Linked DNA regions of Homo sapiens: region 2 is linked to region 1. Evidence: promoter capture Hi-C in 16 types of primary human blood cells and fetal thymus (Javierre and others, 2016). All regions are on one chromosome and are shown on one strand. The core of a region is centred on a gene start or on the middle of the fragment in contact, and the rest is flanking DNA. Distances in the headings are between cores, read along the strand shown. Region 1 holds the start of SLITRK4 (SLIT and NTRK like family member 4). Region 2 has its middle 66 kb from the start of SPANXN3.

Region 1 (7,453 bases), core at 4,871-7,370:
AACAATCCAATTACTCTTTAAATTATTTAAATGTACAATTAAGTTATTATTGACTATAGCCACCCTGTTGTGCTATCAAGTAGTGAGTCTCATCCATTCTTTCAAGTTATTTTTCGATATTATCTCACTCCAGTTAAGATCACTTTTGAAAGAAAGATTTAAGTTTATATTTCTAAGGAAAAGTAATATTGTTATAAAAGCATTGAAAAAAAGACCCTCAATGCTTTTGCAAAACAATAATGTTTTGCTAGCTAGGGACAACACTGTGGTTCCCGAGATAGAGTGGAACACGATAAAAACAGAAAGATTTTTATCAACTTACTATCTCTCTGATAAAGCTTCAGTTGGTGTTATGGAACTTTTACAGCCCATAAGAGTAATTCTCACACTAGACTGTTTAGCTATTAACTTCCTATTTTTTATTTTATGATCTTTATTATCTTTGAGTTGTCTGAGGGCTGTTGAGCTTGTGGCTGGGCCCTAATCTTTGACAGTGAGATTTCTCCAAGTTAGAGAATATATAGAAAAGAGACACTATTTTGTCAGCATCCCTGGCTTAGCAATATTCTAAACCACATAGGTAGTTCTAGTTAGCCATAGGGACAAGTACCCATTAGGGGCCAAAGTTACAAAGACCCTGCAAAACAACATACCCCTCTTTATTATTATTCTAGAAATAATAATTTCTGAGTGAAGTGTTATTTGAAAAATTAGCCAATGCCTTGCTACACAGACTGTAATACATTCACACCTGATGCCTGAGTTTCTGAAAAGGACACCAGGTTACCAGCTGTACTATAAAGAAGTCTGAGCAAAATGGAAGGTCAGGTTAATTGATATAACCTAATCAAATAATCAACTAGTCTCACATTTTCCAATTCATTTGGTATCCTATTTTATAACAATCCTTTTGTCTTAACTGGAATAAGTCTAGGGATGAACACTACTGCTTTGCTTGGTGTGGTGGTTAATAATGAGCGTCAACTTGATTGGATTAAAGGATGCAAAGTATCGATCCTGGATGTGTCTGTGAGGGTGTTGCCAAAGGAGATTAACATTTGAGTCAGGGGGCTGGGAAAGGCAGACCCACCCTTAATGTGGGTGGGCACCATCTAATCAGCTGCCAGGGAATGTAAAGTAGGCAGGAAAATGTAAAAAGGTGAGACTGGCTTAGCCTCCCAGCCTACATCTTCCTCCCATGCTGGATGCTTCCTGCCCTTGAACATCAGACTCCAAGTTCTTTAGCCTTGCGACTCAGACTGGATTCCTTGCTCCTCAGCTTGCAGACAGCCTAATGGGGGACCTTGCGATCATGTGAGTTAATACTACTTAATAAACTCCCATATATATATATATATATATATATATATATATATATATATATATGTATATATAAAATATATAAGTGTGTGTATATATATATGTGTGTGTGTGTGTGTGTGTGTGTGTGTGTGTATATATATTAGTTCTGTCCCTCTAGAGAACACTGACTAATACACATGGCTTCATTTGGTGATAGTGAAAGTGATTATCCCTAATAAGGAACATTTGAGACATCATCACAGATTCAGAATCAACTCAGGTATGAGAGTTGAAAGAGCAGAATGGATAGAACAAGGCTACTACTGGCAAAAGGTAAAATCAGTTGATTCAAGAGACCTTGTCATGCATAATTGATGTGAACTGTTTTTAATGTCATTTATTTGTTTATTCCTGTGCTGAGTATTCATACTTTAATACTTGAAAACATTTATGTCTCAAGTATTCATCTTTGGAAAATTTATTCTGCTTTCAAATCTATCCCTTTCTCTTTTTTTGAGACAGGGTCACTCTGTCGCTCAGGCTAGAGTGCAGTGGCTTGATGATGGCTCACTGCAGCCTTGACCTCCTAAGCTTGAGCGATCCTCCCACCTCAGCCTCCCTAGTACCTGGGACTACAGGTGCACCCCACGATGCCTGGCTATTTTTTTAAATTTATTTTTTAAAGAGATGGCTTTTCACCTTGCTGCCCAGACTGTTTGTCTTGGCATCCCAATGTGCTGAGAATACAGGCGTTAAGTCACCCTGCCCAGCTTTCAAGTCTATTCTGCTTTCAAAGTTAAAAATTCCCTAATCCCCCTGTGAAAACGAAAATGTGGTGTACTGGAAAAACCTCAAAGATCTGGGGTCAAATCTTGACCATCACTTACTCACCATGTGACCTCGGGCAAACTGTTTACCTTCCCTGAATTTTATTTTATTTTATTTTATTTTATTTTATTTTATTTTATTTTGAGAGAGTCTCAGTCTGTTGGCTGGGCTGCAGCGCAGTGGCATGGCCACAGCTGATGGCAGCCTTGACCTCCTGGGCTCAAGTGATCCTCCCGCCTCAGCCTTCCAAGCAGCTGGGGCTACAAGCATGTGCCACCATGCACCACTGATTTTTGTATTTGTTGTAGAGACGATTTTTCCCATGTTGCCCAGGCTGGTTTTGAAATCCTGGGCTCAAGTGATCTCCCCACCTCAGCCTCCCAAAGTGCTGGGATTACAGGAATGGGCCACCATGCCTGGTCACTTAACCTCATTTTTAAAATAAGTATGATAATCCCTTCCTTGTTCATAGAACTAAATGAAATAATATTTGTAGGCAGCACAGCAAAGAAGAGGCACTCAACAGACAGTAGCTACTATTGAATGGGTTAATTATGATCTGAAAACTTCCTTTCATGTTCTAAATTCCAGAAAATTTGTAAAAATGGGCTATTAGTATGTTTTTCAAATTATATAGATAGAAAAAAGGGTTCCATTGTTAAGTAAGTCTGTGAAATGCCACATGCCATATCCCTTTTCCCTTGGTAAATAAAAGCTCATTTAAACATAATTAATTGTGTTGAAAAATCCCAAAGTAAAAATAAAATGTTTAGCTTTACGGAACCAAGGGTCTTTTAAACTTATTTGATCATGGAAACATTTCTTCCCAGAAGATATATTAACATCCTAAGAACTTTCTTGTATTCCACTTAGAGAAATAGCAAGTGTGTGACCGGACACGGTGGCACACGCCTGTAATCCCAGAACTTTAGGAGGCCGAGATGGGCGGATCACCTGAGGTCAGAAGATTGAGAACAGCCTGGACAACATGGTGAAACTCCATCTCTACTAAAAATACAAAAATTAACCGGGCATGGTGGCACATGCCTGTAATCCCAGCCACTCAGGTGGCTGAGGGAGGAGAATTGCTTGAACCCAGGAGGCAGAGGTTGCAGTGAGCCGAGATCACACTAACGCACTCCAGCCTGGGTGACAGAGTGAGACTCTGTCTCAAAAATAAATAAATAAAAATGAAAGAGAAATAGCAAGTTTGTAACTGTTAAAATGCCAGAATATAAATAAATCTTCAATATTAAAATACACTGAATCATCTGTGATACCTGGATACGAAAATTAAGGCTGATTTGATTTTGAGCAGCAGCCTAAGACAAGGCAAGATAAATGAGGAATACAGTGAAAGTGAAAGACCGCTGACTAGGGCCAAGACTTGGCATTATAATCACTTTCGGTTGGTAGTGTTTTAATGACTTAATTCCAAACTGCCTTCGGAACGGAGGGTATACAGGATCTTGTTGAAATTCTTAGTGCAGTTGTTTTTTTCCCTGATGGAGGGAGACACAGTATATCAGTGTAGACCTACGATTCTGGTTGTACTCCTAAAAAGTCAAGATGAAATAAGGTAAAACATTTGGAGGAAGACCGTGAGAGTATTGCAAAACTCACAATATTTGCATGCTTACATTTTAGGAAGAACATCAATTTTGTTTTTCTTTCAATGGCCATAAATAGTGCTGGAGTTTTCTTAACACTTTTATTTATGTATATATTCACTTCCTTTGTTAAGCTAGCAATTCTGTGTCATTTCCTACTGTTCTATTGGGATGTCACCTGTAGTTCTAGGGGACGGAAAAGGGACTGTGGGACTAAAGGATTGGGTTAATTACTTTGAAAGCAAAATAAGCATAAAACATGGAAGTTGTTACTTCTGTTTTATTTTATGAGTGTCCACTTTATCTTTTTAAGTAGCAAAACATTTTATTTTAAAGCATTCATTTAAAAAAGTTGAATATTAATCACAGATAAGTTCTTAGGAATATTATGAATTGTAATTTATCGATGATCTAGCTACAGTGGCTTTCAGATTTGTCTCCATATCCATATGAAAAATAACATTTCACAGTTATTGCAGTTAAATATAGCCAAGTCTCAGAACAGTTTCTAAAGTTGAATAAAGATAGGCATTTAAATCATCTGATATTTACTGTCCAAATCTGGCCTTTTCAGTTATCACATTACTTAGAATTTTCAGGTAAACTTTTTTTGCTCATTCTATTGACTCTTGTTAACATTTGTAGTAAAAGACAAACATTTCACCTATCTGGATAAAATATATTCAGCTTCCTGAATTGTTAGCATTTAGAATAAATGCCAACTTGTTTTGATACCCATTACTACTTTCAAACTGCATTACACAATAAAATGCAAATGTGAGTTATTAATTAGCAGGATCTGTTTTGTCCAAGTGTGCAAGAGTAGAGGGATTTTTCAACATTCTGCAGCTGTTACCTATGAAGGAAACATCATTCACTTTGCTAAAAGGAGCTGCACAATTACATACGCTGTTATAGACAAATATTTTAGTGTTTCCTTAATGCTATTTCATAATGGATTTCACATTGAATAAGATAAATTTTACCAATGCTGCCCAATTTCTGTCTCTAGGTTGTTTGTAAAAGAGAGGATGATTACAGTTTTCAAGGCAATGTGGAGTGAAGGTAGAGAAAGAGTTCTTCATGAACGACACAATATTTAGCAAGGTCATAAAGAAATATGCCCATACACGCATATCTATTTAAGTATTCATTTACATATTGTACGTGCATCTCTGTATACATGTTGTGCCCGGTGAACATTTGTGTGAATATAACCTGACGGAAGTCCCATAAAATGACAAAAAATGAAAAACAATGAAACATGTATATGAATGACTACTATAGATGATACAGAAGGTAGACCATTATTCACAAATAATGTAATAAATCCTTTGCCCATCAGATGTTTCTACCTAGATTTGGGGCCTTTAAACATCAACCAATTATGGTAAATGTTTAACTGTAGGAGTTCAGGCAGACAGCCAAATTCTGGTTTCAAAGCTGTTGCTAGTTTTAGCTTAAAGATTTTTTTTTTCATTTTTAAGCAAGAACATTTCTGGATACCGGTTGTGCTCTATTGTGGCTAGAGCCGCTGGGATTTGAATAAGTAAATTGGGCAACACACTGGTCCTGAAGAAATGGGCCTGGCAGTATTACCTGAATGTGGCAAATAATAGGCTACCAAGAGTCCTAGGGAAATACTTCCCATTTATAACTTAGCTCTACTTACCTAAAGCTAGTTTATTCCCACAGACACGAAGAGAGAGAGAGTTGTTTTTCTTAGCCAAGCTCCTACAAAAAACAGCAAGGTTGGGGGATGGGAGCACATCCAATGTTTATGCCTTTTGTTTAGGAAAGCCAGGTATCTGAAATACATACATGATAGCCAACTCCTCTCTGCTCCCCTCCCCCAGGTTTATTTATTTTCTTAACAAGCTTATTAACGAAATTATCAATTTGCATGAAACTGGTTTGAACATTGGCCCTTCCTCAGAATATTTCTTATCTCTTGTGGAAGCACTAACAAAAAGGGTAGAAGAAGGGGCCTAGACAATCCACACGTTGGATTTGCAGCCACTGGATATTTCAGATTCAGCTGCTAAAGCCTCTTTGGTATACACAATGAGGGGCGACTGAAGTGACTTTTCTTAGTCCATTTCCTCTCCTTCTCCCCGTCTCCCGAAGGTACTCCGTGGGTCCCTTCCCTTTCTCTCTTCACAGTCCCTCCTGAGCAGTCCCAAAGCTTCAAACCTTGTTCTCCAACCCCCTTTCCCTAATGTCTCCCAACTACCACCCCCTTCCCCAGTCAAACTCCCCTCCCGGTCACCACCAAAGCCCGGAGAAGTGGAATGCACACAATGCCTCCCTTATAGGGCTTGAGCTGGGAACTGGGCATGCTCAGTAGCCAAAGTAGTTTTTTTTTTTTTTTTTCTTTTGGTCGCAAGTGCGGCATCTCTCCCAGTCCCACGCCTCTCTTTCCTCAACCCCTATCCCCTATCCCCTATCCCCACCCCCAGCTCCAAGATCATCCGGCTTAACCCATTCTGCACCAAAGGCCCACGGAGTTCTAAGGTGCGGATAATTAACCCGTCTCCTTCTAACCCGGCTAAATAGTCTCACTTTAGGCTAAAGCCTCACACTTTCGCCTTAAAGCCCCTGGCCCCTTACGCGCAGACAGGTAGGGGGAGTGCGAATACTACTGGATCCTAGGAAATTGGTTCCCAAGAAGGCTCCTTCCAGGATCGACCGCCACGGAGAAGTATTCCAGGAGCCCTCCGTTCTGCGGGGTGACAATTAGCCAAAGGTACCGTACCCGTGATACAAAATCCAAGTATGATTGTTGCATTTGAATGTCATTGTTGTTGACTCATTCCCCTCCATCCTGTAATTATTCAATTCCGCGTAGACTCGACGACCCTATCGATCTCCCTCGGCCCCCCTCCCCCAGGCTCTCCAGTGTTTCTTTGGCTTTTCCTGGCTTCTTGGTTGCTCTCTCAAAGGAATGCCCCGTGTGTGTGTGTGTGTGTGTGTGTGTGTGTGTGTGTGTGTGTGTGTGTTCCTTCGTTATTAGGGGACTGGAAGAGAAGAAAAGGGCTCGAGTGTGTGTGTATGTGGTGGGGGGGATGGAGGCGAGTGCGCCCTTGTTAGAGGACTGGGGTCTCCACGCCTGAGGAAAGGGGTCGCTCCTCCCTAGGGAATGTTTTAGGCAAAAAGAGGGGGCGGATGCCGGGAGGAAAGCGCGCTGTCTTTCTGGGTGTGTGGGTAGAAGAGGAATCAAATGGGCATGTCTGGATGGGGGACGGGGGTAGGAGCTCAGGAATGTGAGGGGGTCAAAGTGGTCGAGTGTCGGGAGGAAGGACTGCTTGTGTGCGGGGTGGGGGGGGGTGGTGGAGAGCGGGGGCGGGGATTCAGCGCGTGTATGTAAAGGTGCAGCCCGTGTGCTAGGCGCTGGGTGCGCGCGCGGTGTCTGCTCGGGTGCGCGCGCGCGCCGCTGCCCGCCTGCCCGCCGGCCCGCCTGCTCGCCTGCTGGGGCTGCTCCGTGGGTTTGACGGGCGAGCGGGCGCGGAGGAGCTCTGTCCGGAATCACATAGATACCATCGTGGAAACAGCAGCGCAGGTCACGGCGCCGCGGGCCCTGCACCAGACGCTGGGCTCTAGAGGTGGGTGAATTTTCAGCGGGGGCTGCACAAGCTGCACCGACACGCGTGCTGCCTCTTCCCCGCTCAGCTCAGTAGCGCGTGTGCGTGCGTGTGTGTGTGTGAGAGAGAGAC
Region 2 (7,616 bases), core at 3,865-6,364, 190 kb after region 1:
TTTAAATGGAATTACAAAATAATTATATGTTTTGCCTCCAAAGCTCTTTATTGAGAATGACAATAAACTGCCCAATGTTCAAATCATTGTATAATACATTTATATGATTATTAAATGCTTGTAAATTGCCATTTAACACTGCATGTGTTTACTACCTAGTAAAACAAGTGTTAACCCATCTATTTAAACAACTGGAGAGCATTCATCTTTGCTGAAGTCATTGTTTTATCTTGGGAAAATTCTGCTAACATACCAGTCAGCCAGCCAGCCAGCCAGCCAGCCAGCATATCATCTTTCGTCTGCATTTATTAACTGCTTAGAATGTCCATCTGTTGTTCTTAGTAAATGGAACACTATGAAAAAAATTTCATTGAGTATATCTATATATAACTGTTCCCTTTATGGAGAAAAGCTCCTTGGAATGTTCTTCATAAGTTAAAAACTTGGGACAAGTGTTGGTCAGAGACAAATCGTCAAAGTTGGCAAACTTTCAAATGACAGGCAACAGACTCCTCTCGTTGGGGGAGAAGATAAATATATTTGCTTTAGATCAAGAGAACATTTTCTCAAAATGTGTCAGATCACATTTCTTTAGACTTTGGTGATGGTTTGTTGAGTGATATAGAATACAAGGGAAGAAAAGCTAACAAGTCTTTCATATGTATTTGCGTTCAAATAGCCTCATGTACCGATTTTATCTTGTTTGTGGTTGGGGTTAGAGGTGGAATTCAGGAAACCTACAAGGATATCAGTGAACTACAGTAGTTCTTCCAAGAACTTTAGCAGAATTGTTTGTGGCCTTGCCAAGGTAAAATTGCAGTTAAAGTGGGACCATCTGATGATATTCCAGTGACAAGAACAGAGGGAAAGTATGAAGGCTCCAAACACATATAAATAATTCAGATGGAAGTGCTCATAGTTTAACCTTGGATGAAAATAATATAACACATTCAGAAGGAAATATAACTTTTACTGGTGCTAAAACAACTCTGTTAAATTAGGGCCAGGGATTAGGGTTAATAGAAAAGTGTAAGTTTACTATCTCTTCTTGAACATATTGTTTTGATATAGTGTACATAGGAAGAAGAAAACTAAAAAAGTTATTGCTTGGAAGCCGTAATTACATCACCTCAGTCTGATGCCATGGAGTCTAACAGCAATATAATTTGTATAATCATTTTGATCATGGTGGTGATATTAAGGGCTACATTTCTGGGAATGTAAACTGTTGACACGCAACACGATATATCAATGTAAGAATAACATCTAGGCATAGATAATACGGAAAAAGATCCGTTGGATAAAAATACATCATTTCTAGTAGAAAAGAGGCAAATTTGATTTGGAGACATCAGTTGCAAATTTACCATAATAAGATTCTCAATTCATGCTACATACAATAATTCAGACTGAAGTATCCTTGACAAATTAGTAATGCCTCTTTCTGGTTGCTTATTTGACTTGGAAAGATAATGTGATAAGTATTAATTTTAATATAAATTATCAAAGATTTATGTCTGCAACTTGCCTACAAGTTGTCGTCTGTGTTTAATTTCTTTCAATTCTACTACCATTCATCTCTTCCTCTGGGTAGTTAAACAAAGGGAAAACTGAGTCATGATAAAGAAGGTATTTATTTCACTTTGTCAGCTTTGCAAAATCTTCCAGTTTTAGATAGACTTTTTTTTTCTGATAATGGCTTTACAATTGATAGTAAATAAAGATGGAAATGCAAATCGAGATTCATCTTCCTTTGGTAAAGGCTTAAAGGCTCTCTATTTACATATAATTTGAGGACATTTAAATCTTAATATTGGTAAATATTTACACTTCTGTAATCATTGTGAACCCTCATCTTCACTGCACTACGTATCATTGTGTGTGTGGAGAGAAGAAATGACTTAATTTAATTTGCCTTAATCTCGCATCTTCCCCATAGGATACATTCATTACCACTGGCTGACTTAGATGACATAGAAGAAAATGGAACTAAGTATATGTGTCAACACATGGTAGTAATCTTTTAATGAATGTCTATAGGCATCTTATCCATACTATGGAGCTGCATCTTTAGTGAACAATAAATAATGGGAATAATGGAATGAATTTTTGTTCTCATTTTATCTTGGTTCATCTTGTTCTCATTCACTTTGCTAGTGAAATATATACATACATACATCTTGGCCACAGCATGTCAGGTTCTGTGACCTCCTGGGAAAAGAAATTGATTACCCAACCAATGTACTGAAACTGGTTTTGTCCTCTGAAATTGACTTTTTAGGGTGACAAGAAGCATCTTGTGTTAGTTTTTCATATATTCCATGACTCACTGAGCAGCTCTAATTTTCCCTTAGCAAATACCTAATGAATTTAAATTCAATATAGGAATCAATGTTTTTCAACCAGCTTCTTCTGCTGTGTTTTTTACCTCAATCCAGATACAACCAGAAACCTAAGTCAGTTATCCTTGACTGCTTTACCCCATCCTTTGTATCTCAACCAATCACCAAGCTCTATTGGTTCTGATCCTTAAACATTTCTGGAAGCTGCTCTCTCCATTCCATCTGGACTACTTAGTTCAGGCCTCACCTTACCTTCTCTTATATCTAGTACTGCCACAGTCTCCTAAATGGTCTTTCTATCTCTGATCTTGTCTCTCTCCAATTTATCCGCATGGTACCCGGATGATCTAGTTAAAAAAAAATGCTTCTGCCACTCCCTGGTTTAGACATTTAAGGATCTGTTCAATACCTGCAACAAGAGGAGCAACATCAATTGTCTATAGGGTCTAGGCAGGCAATAGAACATTTGGCCCCAGGTGGATCATGGCAGATATGAGAATCCATGGCTTATCTAAAAGAAGCAAGCACCACTCAGCTTGAATTACATTTTGGCAAGTAATGTATTTCTTTAATCCTGTGGGGTAGGGAAAATAAAATAGATCCGCAGGTTACTGGAATTACGGACTACCAGTTTGCAACTTCTATTCTCTAGGATAAAGTCTAAGTCCTTTAATGTGTTATACAAAATCCTTTGTTGGCACCTTCAGGCCTACACCTTGAGCCTCATTTCTCAAAGCTCCTATCAGTTCTACCTAGAAAAATATCTCTCAACATCCTTGCATTTTTCTCTGTCCCCATTGCCAGCCCTCTATTTCAGGCCATCGTAATTGCTTCCCTGGATGACTGCAATAGCTTCTTCACTGGTCTCTGTCTCAAATCTCTTCTTACTCGAAACAATCTTTTCAAACTGTGATCTTTAAAAATGTAGCAGTGTGATTTATTGGGAATTTCATATCAGAGTGTGACCTACTGAGAAATTAACTAGTGCTTTATTTTCTTATTCTGCAATTCATTGGGAAGGGATACAAGGCATTTTTCCATCTCCTAGAAAGAGAAGCTAGGACTATGTTTTCCAAAGAGACATGCAACAGGGCAGTTCTCAGTGGAATGCCTCTGCTGACATGGCTAGGAAGCTGGGCTAGAGGACACCCTATGCCTCCAGGAGACTAACTTTATGGAACACTATGAGGAACGACCGGTGGGGAGTCAGTGCCTGCAGAGCAGGAAGTTGCACATCTGTGGACTCTATTAGGCTGGTGTCTGTTTTGTAATTATCTCTGTACCTCAATTCAAGTATGGTGCTTAATATTTCATATAGACTCAGTGGATATTATGGAGCTTCATGAGGGATTAAGCCAAAAACCTTTCATTGCTCTTTGGAAAACTATGGATCCTCTCCTTAGATATTTTAACATAGTTTTGGAACATTCATGGACAACACCTCCAAAGTAATCTATAGACCTGCCACAAGCTTAGCTTTCATCTGGGAAGATAGTTTTTAAACCTTACAAATCCCTGTGTGTTAAGTTAGGGTTCTCCAGAGGGACTCACAGTCACACAAGGCAAAGTCCTACCATAAGCTGTCTGCAAGCTGGGGAAGAAAGCAGTCAGTAGTGGCTCAGTCCAAGTTTGAAAGCCTCAAAACCATAAAAGCCTACAGTGCAGCCTTCAGTCTGTGGCCAAAGGCCCAAGAGTCCCTGGCAAACCACTGGTGTAAGTCCAAGAGTGCAAAGGCTGAAGAATCTGGAGTCTGATGTTCAAGGGCAGGAGGAGCAGAAGGAAGCATCCAGCATGGGAAAAAAGAAGAAAGCCAGAAGACCCAAGCAAAGTTATCCCACCTTCTTTCCCTGATTTATTTTTTTTCATGCTGGCGGCTGATTGGATGGTGACCACCCAATTCGAGGGTGGGTCTTCCTTTCCCAGTCCCCTAACTCAAATGTCAATCTCTTTTGGCACCCTCATGGGTACACCCAGAAACAGTACCTTACCAGCCATCTAGGCAGCCTTCAATTTAATCAAGTTGACACTAATATTAACCATCATACTGTGCAAAAGTAGCAGCATGTACTTATTGATGACAGTGATTTTTTTTTAATGTCCAAAAGGGACAAAAACTAGAGAGATCAAAGTAATCAAACAAAAAGGATTCTGTTTTGTGCAAGATAACAAGCAATTAAGAGCAAATATTGTTTAAAAGAAAAAATCAAATTTACTTTCTCATTTAGAAGAGGTCATTTCAGTTCTATCACCATAAGTTATACATTAAGTACAAGTTTTCTTAGTACTTTATAACTTAGAACACCGTAGCTTAGAAACATGTACCTTGCTTAAGTCAACTTTCAAATTTTTCTCAGCGATAAGCAAATAGTTTCATTTCGCATGCTAACTCTAAAGACAGCCCTATATTTCCTACTTGAGGGACTATTTCTTGAAGAATTTTGAGCATAAGCTCAGATTCAGTAGGAAAAATTTCATGATCACAGTATAATGTTGGCCATGGATACAGGACTGCAGATTGGCTGATGGTACTTGGGCCAATTTGGGCCACATATTAATATTTCCCTCAGACCACATATTCCTCTTGGCCAAATATCCTTTCATGAGCCACATACCTCCTTTGGTCTATATAGGATACATGTATTCCTTGGGCTTCATATTCCCCATGCTACCTTGATTAAGAATTCCTTGCCTCTTTAGTTTATTTATTCCACAGATGTTTGGGAATAAACTGTCATTTTATTTGATCCCTAGTAAACCTTTTGGCTTCAATTTGTAGATAAAAACAAAGACCTTCTTGAGATGTGAGGGACTTGCTACTTACCCAAGAGTTGTAAATCACTAGCCATTTCAAAGATGAATCTACTCATTATTTCTACCTAAGCCTCAGACCGTGTAGTCTAGTAGTTAAGTCATGGGTTCTGGAATCTGATAGAGTAGGGTTTAGGTTTAATTGTCAGTTACTGATAGAATGACTTTTGGCTAAATTACTCTTCTCCAACCCTCCTTCTTATCTGGAGAGTAGAGATAGTAATTCATACCTTAAAAAGTTGTTTTGATAATTAAATTGAATAATAAACAGAGTTCTTAAACAAATACCTAGCATGTAGTAAGTACTCTATTAATGAAAATAGTAATAACTATTTTATAATCATTTTACAAGGTATAGAAGAAACAGAATAATTTGGACTGCTCTAAGCAGATTATCAAATTATCAAACAAGTCAGAGATCATTAGATTAATAAACTCAATGCTGTATTACTTTCTAAAGTGAATGTAAAACATGAATTTATAATATAAAAACATATTTTATCTATTGCTCTCTTAATTTTTCATATAGATGCTGGGCTAAATAAAATCTGCTTTCATTTCATTATGAAATTATTATGTTCAACATTTACCTTAAGAAGTCAGCCAGATCTTAAATTTGTTTAAAAAACATAGAGGCACTTAAAATTATTATTATTATTATTATTATTGAGATGGAGTCACATTCTGTCACCCAGGCTGGAGTACAGTGGTGTGATCTTAGCCCACTGCAACCTCCGCCTCCTGGGCTCAAGCGATTCTCCTGGTTCAGCCTCCCAAGTAGCTGGGATTATAGGCATCCTCTACCACGCCCAGCTAATTTTTGTATTTTTAGTAGAGATGAGGTTTCACCATGTTGTCCAGGCTGGTCTTGAACTCCTGACCTCAGGTGATCCACCCACCTCAGCCTCCCAAAGTGTTGGGATTACAGGTGTGAGCCACAGTGCCTGGCCCAATGTTTTTTTAAATGTGTCAAGATAAAGCCTTTAGGTAGATCATTTCGGATGAATTGGCTGCTCCTTCATTGAAATTAGTGACTTTCCTTTCTTGTTTTTTCACTTAGAGGACTCATGAACTTGAGATGTTTCCTAATTTATACTTAAAACTACCATGAGAGGTCAACTTGAGCAGGCTTATTTACAGCTGAAGAAAGGAGGTCTTTCCCTCGTTTTACATTCTCTCCTTTATATCTTCAGGGTAACTCTGTAAACAACAAACTCAGCAAATACATTAGTGCTGAAAGAGGGAGTGAGCAAGCTAAAGCTTTGAGAATGCAGGTGACTGATGGTCTACAGATGGGAACTGTAAGTCTGCCAAAGAGGACATTTCATCCATCTCTTGAGGGCCATACTTTAATCTGCCCCTACTGAGAAAATTCTTCTGATTTGGGAGACTTCAAGAGAAAGCTTTTATTTATTTATTTATTTATTTATTCATTTATTTATTTTTCAGTTTCACTTAATAATGCTTCCAAGAATGAAGTGGCTTTTAAAGATAAGAACAGGTACTATTGTAAGAAGAGAGGAAAAGAGCATTTTTTCTATAGAAAACAAGAATAAAAATGAATTTACTATTAGTAATGGGAAGTGTCCAGTCACCTGTTTTGAAGTCAAAGCATCAGTTTCTCATCTGTATGTTGAAGGTAATGGTCATCTGTGCCTCACAGTCTCGTGGATGGAATTGAATAATGTACATAGGAGGCACCTAGTGTCTAGTTATCTGTAACATAGCAGGGGTTCAATAAATGTTAGTATACCTTCCTTGACATCTCATTGGGCAAAATCAAAATGGCAAAATGATCCTTAGGGGGAAAAATCAAAGAAAAAAATCGCATTCAGTTATGGGAAAAAATTAAAGCTGTAAACATTTTCTAAGTAGTTCAACTTGAAAACCTACAGAGGCAAGAGAGCAGAAAATAAAAATGGAACAGCCAAATGATGTGTATTTCAAACAAAATAACGTCCTTAATAAACAGTATCTGTTACAGTCAGGAGGGCTTTCAAAGGTATCACTAGTCTCAATTCTCTGATAGAATTGCTCAGTATTATTTGCAAAAATGTGGGCACACATAGACACACACATCCAGCTGATAGGAAACTATTTCATTAACTCAAATAGACTGTAAATATTTTATTTGAAGTTCCAATCTCTCCCGTGGACCTCCTCCATGATCACACTGCACAGTAGAAGGGTTTTCATGATACCCAGCCATTTGGGGCAGCAGCTACTCCCAGTCTTTAGAGGCTGCTGGATGCCTGGCAGTATAAGAAGAGCTCTGGCCTGATATACAAGAAATACAAGGTATTCATTATACTAGAGGTTAATATTCACAGCCAGGAGGCTTTATATACAATGTAGACACAGAATCTCTGTCTTGCCTTTAGACTAAACAACTGTTTTTTTTGTTTGTTTGTTTTTTTTTCTGCCCTGTGTGTGTTGCAAAACTGCCATAACTACATGGACAGCTAC

What was found. The method cuts DNA at HindIII sites, captures the fragments that hold promoters and counts their contacts. A CHiCAGO score of 5 or more calls a contact.
Region 2: a contact is called between a fragment that was not itself captured here and the fragment with the promoter of SLITRK4 in region 1, in 1 of 17 cell types (M2 macrophages). The highest score is 5.2, in M2 macrophages.

What each region holds. Positions count from the first base shown.
Region 1 is chrX:143,634,768-143,642,220 of GRCh38, reverse strand. SLITRK4 (SLIT and NTRK like family member 4) reads left to right here and starts at 6,120. Exons shown (of 2, transcript NM_001184749.3): 1 at 6,120-6,486. The HindIII fragment of the contact is 4,708 bases long and covers 5,928-7,453 here.
Region 2 is chrX:143,447,914-143,455,529 of GRCh38, reverse strand. No RefSeq gene overlaps it. Among named protein-coding and RNA genes, the nearest start is that of SPANXN3, 66 kb to the left of the region's middle. The HindIII fragment of the contact is 2,597 bases long and covers 3,816-6,412 here.